Regions from separate parts of the Homo sapiens genome. Here region 2 is linked to region 1. The links are contacts of gene promoters, found by promoter capture Hi-C in blood cells and fetal thymus (Javierre and others, 2016). All regions are on one chromosome and are shown on one strand. Each heading gives the region's core, a stretch centred on a gene start or on the middle of the fragment in contact. The rest is flanking DNA. Distances are from core to core; before and after follow the strand shown. Region 1 holds the start of SMU1 (SMU1 DNA replication regulator and spliceosomal factor). Region 2 overlaps NDUFB6 (NADH:ubiquinone oxidoreductase subunit B6).

Region 1 (4,463 bases), core at 627-3,126:
TCCCGAGTAGCTGGGATTACAGATGCACACCTATCTGCCTGGCAAATTTTCTTATTTTTAGTAGAGACGGGGTTTCACCATGTTGGCCAGGCTGGTCTCCAACTCCTGAACTCAGGTGATCCACCCGCCTCAGCCTCCCAAAGTGCTGAGATTACAGGCGTGAGCCACCACGCCTGGCCAGATTTATTATTACTGTGCTGCAAATAATTTTTACAATTTATATACAACAGCAATAAAATATTTAAAAATAGGTTTTATGTATGAAGTTCACTGATATCTCTACATTTCATTTGTCACTACAAATGTAATAATGTGTTTGACCTAAAGTCCCGTGACAGGGCGTGGTGGCTCATGCCAGTAATCCCAGCACTTTGGGTGGCTGAGGTGGGAGGATTGCTTGAGCTGGAGGGGTCGAGGCTGCAGTGTGCCACGATCGAGACACTGCACTCCAGCATGGGCAACAAAGCGAGTCCTTGATTCAAAAAAACGCAAAACCAACCAACCAACCAAAATCCTCAATTAACTCTTCCTATAAATTTTGGCTAGTGTTATGTTGGTTTTGAATGTATTAATATCCCATCAGGTATTGCATATTCAGCCTCATCTTAAATCTAATCAACTAATTACATCAAACGAAAGCAACATTGGCTGGGCGCAGTGACTCACGCCTGTAATCCCAGCACTTTGGGAGACCGAGGCGGGCGGATCACGAGGTCAGGAGTTCGAGAACAGCCTGACCAACATAGTGAAATCCCATCTCTACTAAAAATACAAAAAATTAGCCTGGCGTGATGGCAAGAAACCTGTAATCCCAGCTACTCCGGAGGCTGAGGCAAGAGAATCTCCTGAACCCGGGAGGCAGAGTTTGCAGTGAGCCGAGATCGCGCCATTGTGCTCTTCAGCCCGGGCGACAGTGCGAGATTCCGTCTCAAAAAAAAAGCAATCTTTCCAAACCAGTGCTCTTTCTTTTCTTTCTTTTCTTTTCTTTCTTTTCTTCTTTCTTTTCTTTGCTTTTCTTACTACAATCTTATCACCACTACTTTTCTTTTCTTCTTTTGAGACGGAATTTTGCTCTCCTTGCCCAGGCTGGAGTGCAATGGTGTGATCTCGGCTCACCGCATCCACCTCCAGAGGTGAAACGATTCTCCTGCCACAGACTCCCGAGTAGCTGAGATTACAGGCGCCCCCGCCACCACGCCCGGCTAATTTTTTGTATTTTTAGTAGAGACGGGGCTTCACCATGTTGCCCAGGCTGGTCTCGAACTCGCGCGCTGGGAGTACAGGCGCGAGCCACCGCGCTCCGCCCCAGCGCTTTTCTTTTTCAGTACATTTGTGAGCTGTATGGCGCCCGGTGCTTTTTTTCTTTTTCTTTTCTATCTTTCTTTTTTTTTTTTTTTTTTTTTTGAGACGGAGTTGCGCTCTTGTTTTCCATGCTGGGGTGCAATGGCGCGATCTCGGCTCACCGCAACCTCCGCCTCCTGGGTTCAAGCGATTCTCCTGCCTCAGGCTCCCGAGTAGGGATTACAGGCATGCGCCACTACGCCCGGCTAATTTTGTATTTTTAGTAGAGACGGGGGTTTCTCCATGTTGGTCAGGCTGGTCTCGAACTCACGACCTCAGGTGATCGCCCGCCTCGGCCTTCCAAAGTGTTGGGATTACAAGCGTGAGCCACCGCACCCGGCTCCGGCCTGCTTTTAAACAGTCTTCCTCCTGATGCGTATTTCTCTGGGGCAGGGGCATAAACTCCGCCCTCTGACAGCCCCTGAGGGCTCCGCCCCTACGCGAACCTCGCCCCTACTCTTCGTTCACTCTATCTCCAGAGCGGGAGCCAGACGCCGACCCAAGCGGAAGTGACGTTAGGTGTCCGCCGGAGGTGTCGTTGGTGTGTTGCGCGACTGGCCTTGAGGGAGAGCTGGGGCCTGCTCCCGGAGAGATACGGCTATGTCGATCGAAATCGAATCTTCGGAGTGAGTCCTGCGGTGGGGATGTTCGCGCCTTGCCGGGGGCCTGGAGGTTAAGGGTGTGGGGCGGAGGGTACTCGGGAGAAGGCATCCGAGAGGCCAGGGAGTGGAGGGCCATTTCCTTGCCCCCAAAGAAGCATCTTGGATCTCGCTACCTCGGAGGTGGGCCCACAGGAAAGTAGCAGCTCTCAGACGTGAAGCCCAAAACCTCGAGGGAGGTGGCACGGGTGGGGAAAACACACCTTGCAGACCTAAGTTCTGTCCTTGGCCGACTGCTGGCGCGCTGTGATTGACCAAATTAAGGATCCACTCTGGACTCCAGTCTAATTATCTGCGCAAGGGGATAGGTCTCTTTAAGCCTTGCTTCTCTCCCTGTCCAGCTTATGCAATGTGATTCGTTGTCTCTGCTTATACGGCCCCTTTGCTTTTCTCTGCCTAGCGTTTATCACTCAGTATTGTCACTGTTTGATAACCTCACCCCAAACTAGCCTTTGTCGGTGCCTAGGAGCTCCTTTTCCTTGTGGTCTCAGTGTCTAGCATACCTTAGAGGAAGAGTTAATTGCTTTTGGAATGAATGAACAACTAGCTTTTGGAATGAATGAACAACTATCAGGCCCGATCTGGCACGGAATTTTGGGTTGTCTGGGGAGAGACAGACTGGAGACTGGGCTAGAAAGAAAAATTTTCAAGGAATAGGGGATGAGAATTAGTGACTAAAGAAGACCTTAGTGTGCTTTTCCAGAACTCCATCCTCCACCTGTCCTTGCCAACACTTAATAATAATTAAATTAACAGACATAAAAATTGTGTCTGAGTGTAAGGGAGGGAGAGGACCTTTTTTGGAGACTTTTCATAGGAGGAAGGGAGGTTTATGCATTCAGCAAATACTGAAATGATGTTAACCTACTTGTCCAAGGTCACATAACTTTGATTCAAATCCCAGACTATCTTCAAAGCTTCTAGCTCTTTATGTATTCATTTCTGTTTGAAGGTAGGGAATTTGATTTTGGCTATGTCAAATGTGAGCTGTTTGAGGAGAGAGATGACTTATTTTGGGAGTGTAAAATGGAAGTCAACGGACATGTGCTAAGGAAGATAGTATCATAGCAGAATAACAGGGGTCTAAGTCTGGATACCTGCATACCTCATAAAGGGGCCATGAGAGAAAAAGACTACTGCAGGTAGCAGCAATCAGTTCCCTTTTTTTTTTTTGAGACGGAGTCTCACTCTGTCACCCAGGCTGGAATGCAGTGGCGCGATCTCCGCTCACTGCAAGCACCGCCTCCCACGTTCACGCCATTCTCCTGCCTCAGCCTCCCGAGTAGCTGGGACTACAGGCGCCCACCACCATGCCCGGCTAATTTTTTTGTATTTTTAGTAGAGACGGGGTTTCACCGTGTTAGCCAGGATGGTCTCGATCTCCTGACCTTGTGATCTGCCCGCCTCGGCCTTCCAAAGTGGTGAGATTACAGGCGTGAGCCACCGCGGCCGGCCTATAGTTGTTTTTAAGAAGAGGGGCCAGGTGCGGTGGCTCACACCTGTCATCTCAACACTTTGGGAAGCTGAGGTGGATGGATCACTTGAGCCCAGAAGTTTGAGACCAGCATGGTCAACATGGCAAAACCACGTCTCTACAAAAAATACAACAATTAGCCAGTGTGGTGGTGCATGCCTGTGGTCTCAGCTACTCGGGAGGCTGAGGTGAGAGGATCACCTGATCCCAGGAGGCCCAGGCTGCAGTCAGCCACAATCACGCCACTATTCTGTCCAGCCTGAGCGATGCAAGTGACCATTTCTCAAAAAAAAAAAAAAAAAAGAGGATGTTTGCTTTCTCCTCAGGAATACATGCTCTAGAGCCACACTGCCAGTTTGAGTCCTGATTTTTCCACTTATTATCTCTATTATCTGATCAAATCCTCATCTGTAAATTGGGGATAAAAGTAAACTTACCTCATAGGTTTTATTTTATTTATTTTTTTGAGACAAGGTCTTGCTCTCTTTCCCAGGCTAGAGTGCAGTGGCATGATCACGGCTCACTGCAGCCTCAACCTTATGGATACAAGCAATCCTCCCACCCCAGCTTCCCAGGTAGCTGGGACCACAAGCACACACTATCATGCCTAGCTAATTTTTTTTTTTGTGTGTGTGTGTGTGTAGAGAAGGGGTCTTCTTATGTTGCCCATGCTGGTCTTGAACTCATGGGCTCAAGGGATCCTCCCACATCAACATCCCAAGTAGCTGGGACTACAGGCACATGCCACCATGTTTGGCTAATTTAAAAAAAAATTTGTAGAGATGGGGTCTCACAGCTGCCTGATCTGGTCTCAAACCTCCTGGTTTCCAGCCAATCCTCCTGCCTCAGCCTCCCAAATTACTGAGATTACAGTCATGAGCCAGCATGCCCAACCTCATTTAGATTATTTTGTATAAATAACTAGTCTAGTCATTTAAAGTATTTCAGTGAAGTGTGCTACAATATAATTACAAGAATGAATAGGAAAC
Region 2 (4,463 bases), core at 809-3,308, 510 kb after region 1:
AGTTAAAGAACAAGATGGAAGAGAAGTGGACTGGGAATATTTTTATGGCCTGCTTTCTACCTCAGAGAACCTAAAATTAGTGTTGTCTGCCATAAGAAAACCACCCACAAAACCAGCTATGACCTGAACAGAATCTACAAACCCCAGACAAGGTTGAAGAGGAAGTGGCCTGTGTGAAAGCGCCAGTGACATATACACACCATATTCTCGTCTTTGTTCGAGGCCTGTCGTGGGCATAATTTTAACAGGTGCCTTTTTTTTTTTTTGGTCACTCCAGTAGCTCCTGGAAAAAACCTTAAAAAATATTTCCGGCAAATCTGATTTCAGTACATTTCTGAATCATTGTTTGTTTGTTTGTTTTTTGTAGGTGGAGTTTCACTTTCGTTGCCCAGGCTGGAGTGTAGTAGTGTGATCCTGGCTCACTGCAACCTCCGCCTCCCGGGTTCAAGTGATTCTCCTGCCTCAACCTCCCAAGTAGCTAGGATTACAGGTATGTGCCACCATGCCTGGCTAATTTTTGTATTTTTAGTAGAGACAGGGTTTCGCCATGTTGGTCGGCCTGGTCTCGAACTCCTGACCTCAGGTGATCCACCTGCCTCGGCCTACCAAAGTGCTGGGATTACAGGCGTGGGCCTCCGTGCCTGGCCTGAATCATTTTTTGTACCTTCTGACAGCCCAACTTCCAGAGGACAACTTTGGGGTACTCACTGGATGTCTTGTGAGTCGTCAGTAGGGATAAGAATTGTCCTGAGCTGAGGAATTCTTCTGTTCTCTGGTTTTACCAGTATTTGGTTTGCTCATGTGGTGTGGTCACCATACTAAAACGGTGTCATGGCTGAAGTTAGCCACTCTTGTTTGAGGGACAAGTTGTTTATGCATCAGCTGTCTGCTGGCTCTCCATTTCCATGGCAAATGGGCAGCTCCATCCTTCTTGACTGTTCTAAATGCCCAAAAGAGAGGTGTCATGCTTTGGGGGTAAGATGTTTGTACTCCATAAAGAACATAAAAGGACATTCACTGCTGAATTTTTTTCTTTTTTTTTTTTGAGACAGGGTCTCACTGTGTCTCCTGGCTGGAGTGCAGTGGCGCGATCTCGGCTCACTGCGACCTCTGCCTCCTGGGTTCAAGTGATTCTCCTGCCTCAGCCTACCAAGTAGCTGGGATTACAGGTGTCCGCCACCATGGCTGACTAATTTTTGTATTTTTAGCAGAGATGAGGTTTTGCCATGTTGGCCAGGCTGGTCTTGAACTCCTGACCTCAAGTGATCTGCCTGCTTTGGCCACCCAAAGTGCTGGGATTACAAGCGTGAGCCACCGCACCTGGCCTGCTGAATTGTTTATAATGGCAAAAAGTAGGAAACCTCCCAATGTCTATGAATAGGGCCATAGCTATTATGTCGAACCACATGAAACTGCCGTTTTTCTAGGCCAAAAATGGTGAGCGATCGTTAATTTCATGATTCAACTTGATACATTTACATAGTGCAAAAGGATGTTGTAGTTTCAAGCTTTTATGAAGAAAGTGTTTCTGTGTAGAAACTGGAAGCTGTTCAGTGCACTGGCAGCTGAACCCTGCTCCTGCTCCATTTATCAGAGTTACTATCATCTCAGATAATATGGAGCTCATGTCAGCAGTGCAGGTGGTGAGTGCGCAGAGACAATCTGGAAGGAAACGCTGATCTGAACAGCAGTAATCCTGGGGGACATGGGGGTGGGACTGGATTACAGAGGACTCATTTTCTAAATCATGTATTTTATGATACTTGAATTTTTTTGAAATGGGCATTTATTTAATGACATGTTATAATGTACTTTTTTTTAAAAAAGTGTAATATTTGAATTTTTACATTTGTTGTGTAATCAGCAGAAGCAATAAAGATTTTTCAGAAAAAAGAAAAATGGCACTGATAGAGTTGCTTGTCTCGGGGTTGCTAAAACCTTCTATTTATAAGAAAACACAATATATGTGAAGTGCAGTAAAGCAAAGTGCAATAAAGTAAGGTATGCCTGTGAGTACATATGTTGATGATAAAGGGACACAGGATTCTCACTGCCGGAAAAGGGAGTTACCTATGTGAAAAGGAAGAAAAGTTTGTGGTGGTAGAATGGAATTGGAGGTACTGGTGTGAACTCATGGTTTTTAAAATGTATTGATAGACCTAGAAATAGATATAGATGTAAATGTGGATGTGTGCATGCGTGTTTGTGTGTACATATTCTCTAGCTATGTCCACTGAGAGGACCTGGAAACATTGCCACTCCTTAGTAATTAGCACACTTAGAAGCTAGGTCTTATTTTCTAAATACAGTTATGCACTGAAAGGACCCAGAGCTCAGAGCAGTGGCCAATTCTAGGGCGGGAGGAGAGAAAGTATAAGATGAGCTTGGAACATATTATTGTGCCAGAAAGTAAAGAAGTGCTGAAAGAATGATGGGAACATATTTCAAAGGACACAGAGTCAGCTTGCAAGGACTCCTGCCTGGGCAGTTTGAACTTCAAAGTAAATAATGATAGTAATAGATGATAGTCACCTGAATAAAATGAAAATCCATGAGTGCAAACTGATATAAATAAGTGAATTAATAAATGGGTAGAAAAGAAAGCTTTTTGATGCAATAATTTGCTGAATGATAGAATTAGAAAAATTACCATTTGAGAATCATCATAGTAATATTTAATTCAGCTAAGGAACATCAAAGGATGCTAACATTAGTCTGGGCACAGTGGCTCACACCTGTAATCCCAACACTTTGGGAGGCTGAGGTGGGAGGACTGCTTGAGGCCAAGAGTTTGAGATCAACCTGGGCAACATAATGAGACCCCATCCCTCCAAAAAAAAAAAAAGCCCAATAGTCCCACCTGTTCAGGAGGCTGAAGCAGGAGGATCGCTTGAGCCCAGGATGTGGAGCCTGCAATGAGCTATGATTGTGCTGCCCACTGTACTCCAGCCATCCTGGGTGACATAGTGAGACTCCCATCTGAATCAAAAAAAGAAAATTAAAAAAAAAAGAGGATGCTAATACTAATTTTAAAATACTTATCCTCAAAATATTTAATTTGTTACAAAGAGAGAAAGAGTATCTTTGTAGTAGAGAAATCTGGCAGACGCCACCTTAGTCAAGGGGTCTAAATTAACATTATTGATAATGGGGCAAACTGAAATTATGTTACTTGATAGGCTGCAATAAGAACACAGCATTACTTTTGTGATATTCCTGCCAAAGGTGCATAACTTGAATGTAATTTATTGATTAAATTCATATGAGGAAACAGAAGATAAACCCAAACTGAGGGGCTGTTCTCCCTCATTATTGGCATTATACCTTCAGAAATGTCAAGATCATGAATGTTAAAGAACAGCTTTAAGATTGTTCCAGATTGAGGAAGAATAAAGAGATATGCCAACTAAATGCAATTCTTCATTAATAGGCATAATTGCATTATCTGTAAGAACAGTGACGGTGTTGGCAGTCAGAATTTTAAAGAGCCTGCACAGTCAATGGAGAACATGTCATGTAAGGGGATTTTCTGATAAGTCCAAACAATTATTGAGACAATTGAGAAGATTTGAATGGATTTTTTAGATCAGGTAGAGATAGTAATGTATGAGTGTTAATTTCCTGATCTTGATAGTTGTATTGTAATTATTTTAAGAATATTGTCTTTGCTTGTAGGAAGTATACTAGAGTAATAAACTAGTCAGCAATTTACTATAAAGTGATTCAAGGAAAAAATTATTTTCATTCTTGCAGCTTTATGTAAGTTTAAAATTATTTCAGAATAAAGACAGAAGTTAAGGACTGTCTAACAAATTATAGATAATCCAGTGAATGTTGGCTTTCTGTTAGCCTATTGACAGAAGAGTGAAACAACCAAAATTTTGGGGGGTTTTCAGAACACCCCTGCCCCCAACATAACTTACTCTCTTTGATTGTGTTCTCTATTGATTGTGTAGACTCTTTAAAATTCTGATTGCTGACATCTTTGTTCCGTGTACTAAGCAGATTAAGCCCCTTGATTAACAAGTACGGAGTGCCTAGCATGTCCTCTTCCTTTATTGCTATAGAAAGAATATACAAGACCAAATTCCTGACCTCAAAGACTTTATAGTAAAGTTGGAAGATAGGTATAATTTGGGAAAGAGTACGGAGGAAAAAAGTTAATTCCTGTTAGAAGCAAACATATGGAGTCAGTAATGAACGTGGCCGTATGTACCTAAGACTGAGGAGCTGACTAGAATGGAAGGTCTGTTGACTAGGTAGCCTGGGACCAATTTATGGAAGGTGTTGAAAGTTAGATAGAAGAAGTTGAACTGCATGTGATAGGCAATGGGAAGCTTTCCATTTTTTAATGGGAGAGTGACTTGATGAATGTGATACATTGAGGAAAACAAAGAAAAACATTGAAATGGATGGTGAATTGAAGGGAAGAAAGTTCTGACAGCAGGGCAGATCAGCTGGAG

Evidence for each region. Contacts are between HindIII fragments. The CHiCAGO score rates a contact against its expected background, and 5 or more counts as called.
Region 2: a fragment that was not itself captured here is called in contact with the fragment with the promoter of SMU1 in region 1 in 1 of 17 cell types (M2 macrophages); the score reaches 5.4 in M2 macrophages.

Annotation. Positions count from the first base shown.
Region 1 is chr9:33,074,087-33,078,549 of GRCh38, reverse strand. It overlaps SMU1 (SMU1 DNA replication regulator and spliceosomal factor), which reads left to right and starts at 1,876. Exons shown (of 12, transcript NM_018225.3): 1 at 1,876-1,967. The coding sequence starts at 1,942. RefSeq lists enhancers at 1,495-1,694, 1,865-2,014. The HindIII fragment of the contact is 3,581 bases long and covers 1-2,919 here.
Region 2 is chr9:32,561,874-32,566,336 of GRCh38, reverse strand. The region is part of intron 2 of NDUFB6 (NADH:ubiquinone oxidoreductase subunit B6); the gene reads left to right. It also overlaps a transcript of SMIM27 not described here and the pseudogene DFFBP1. Among named protein-coding and RNA genes, the nearest start is that of NDUFB6, 9.1 kb to the left of the region's middle. The HindIII fragment of the contact is 1,096 bases long and covers 1,511-2,606 here.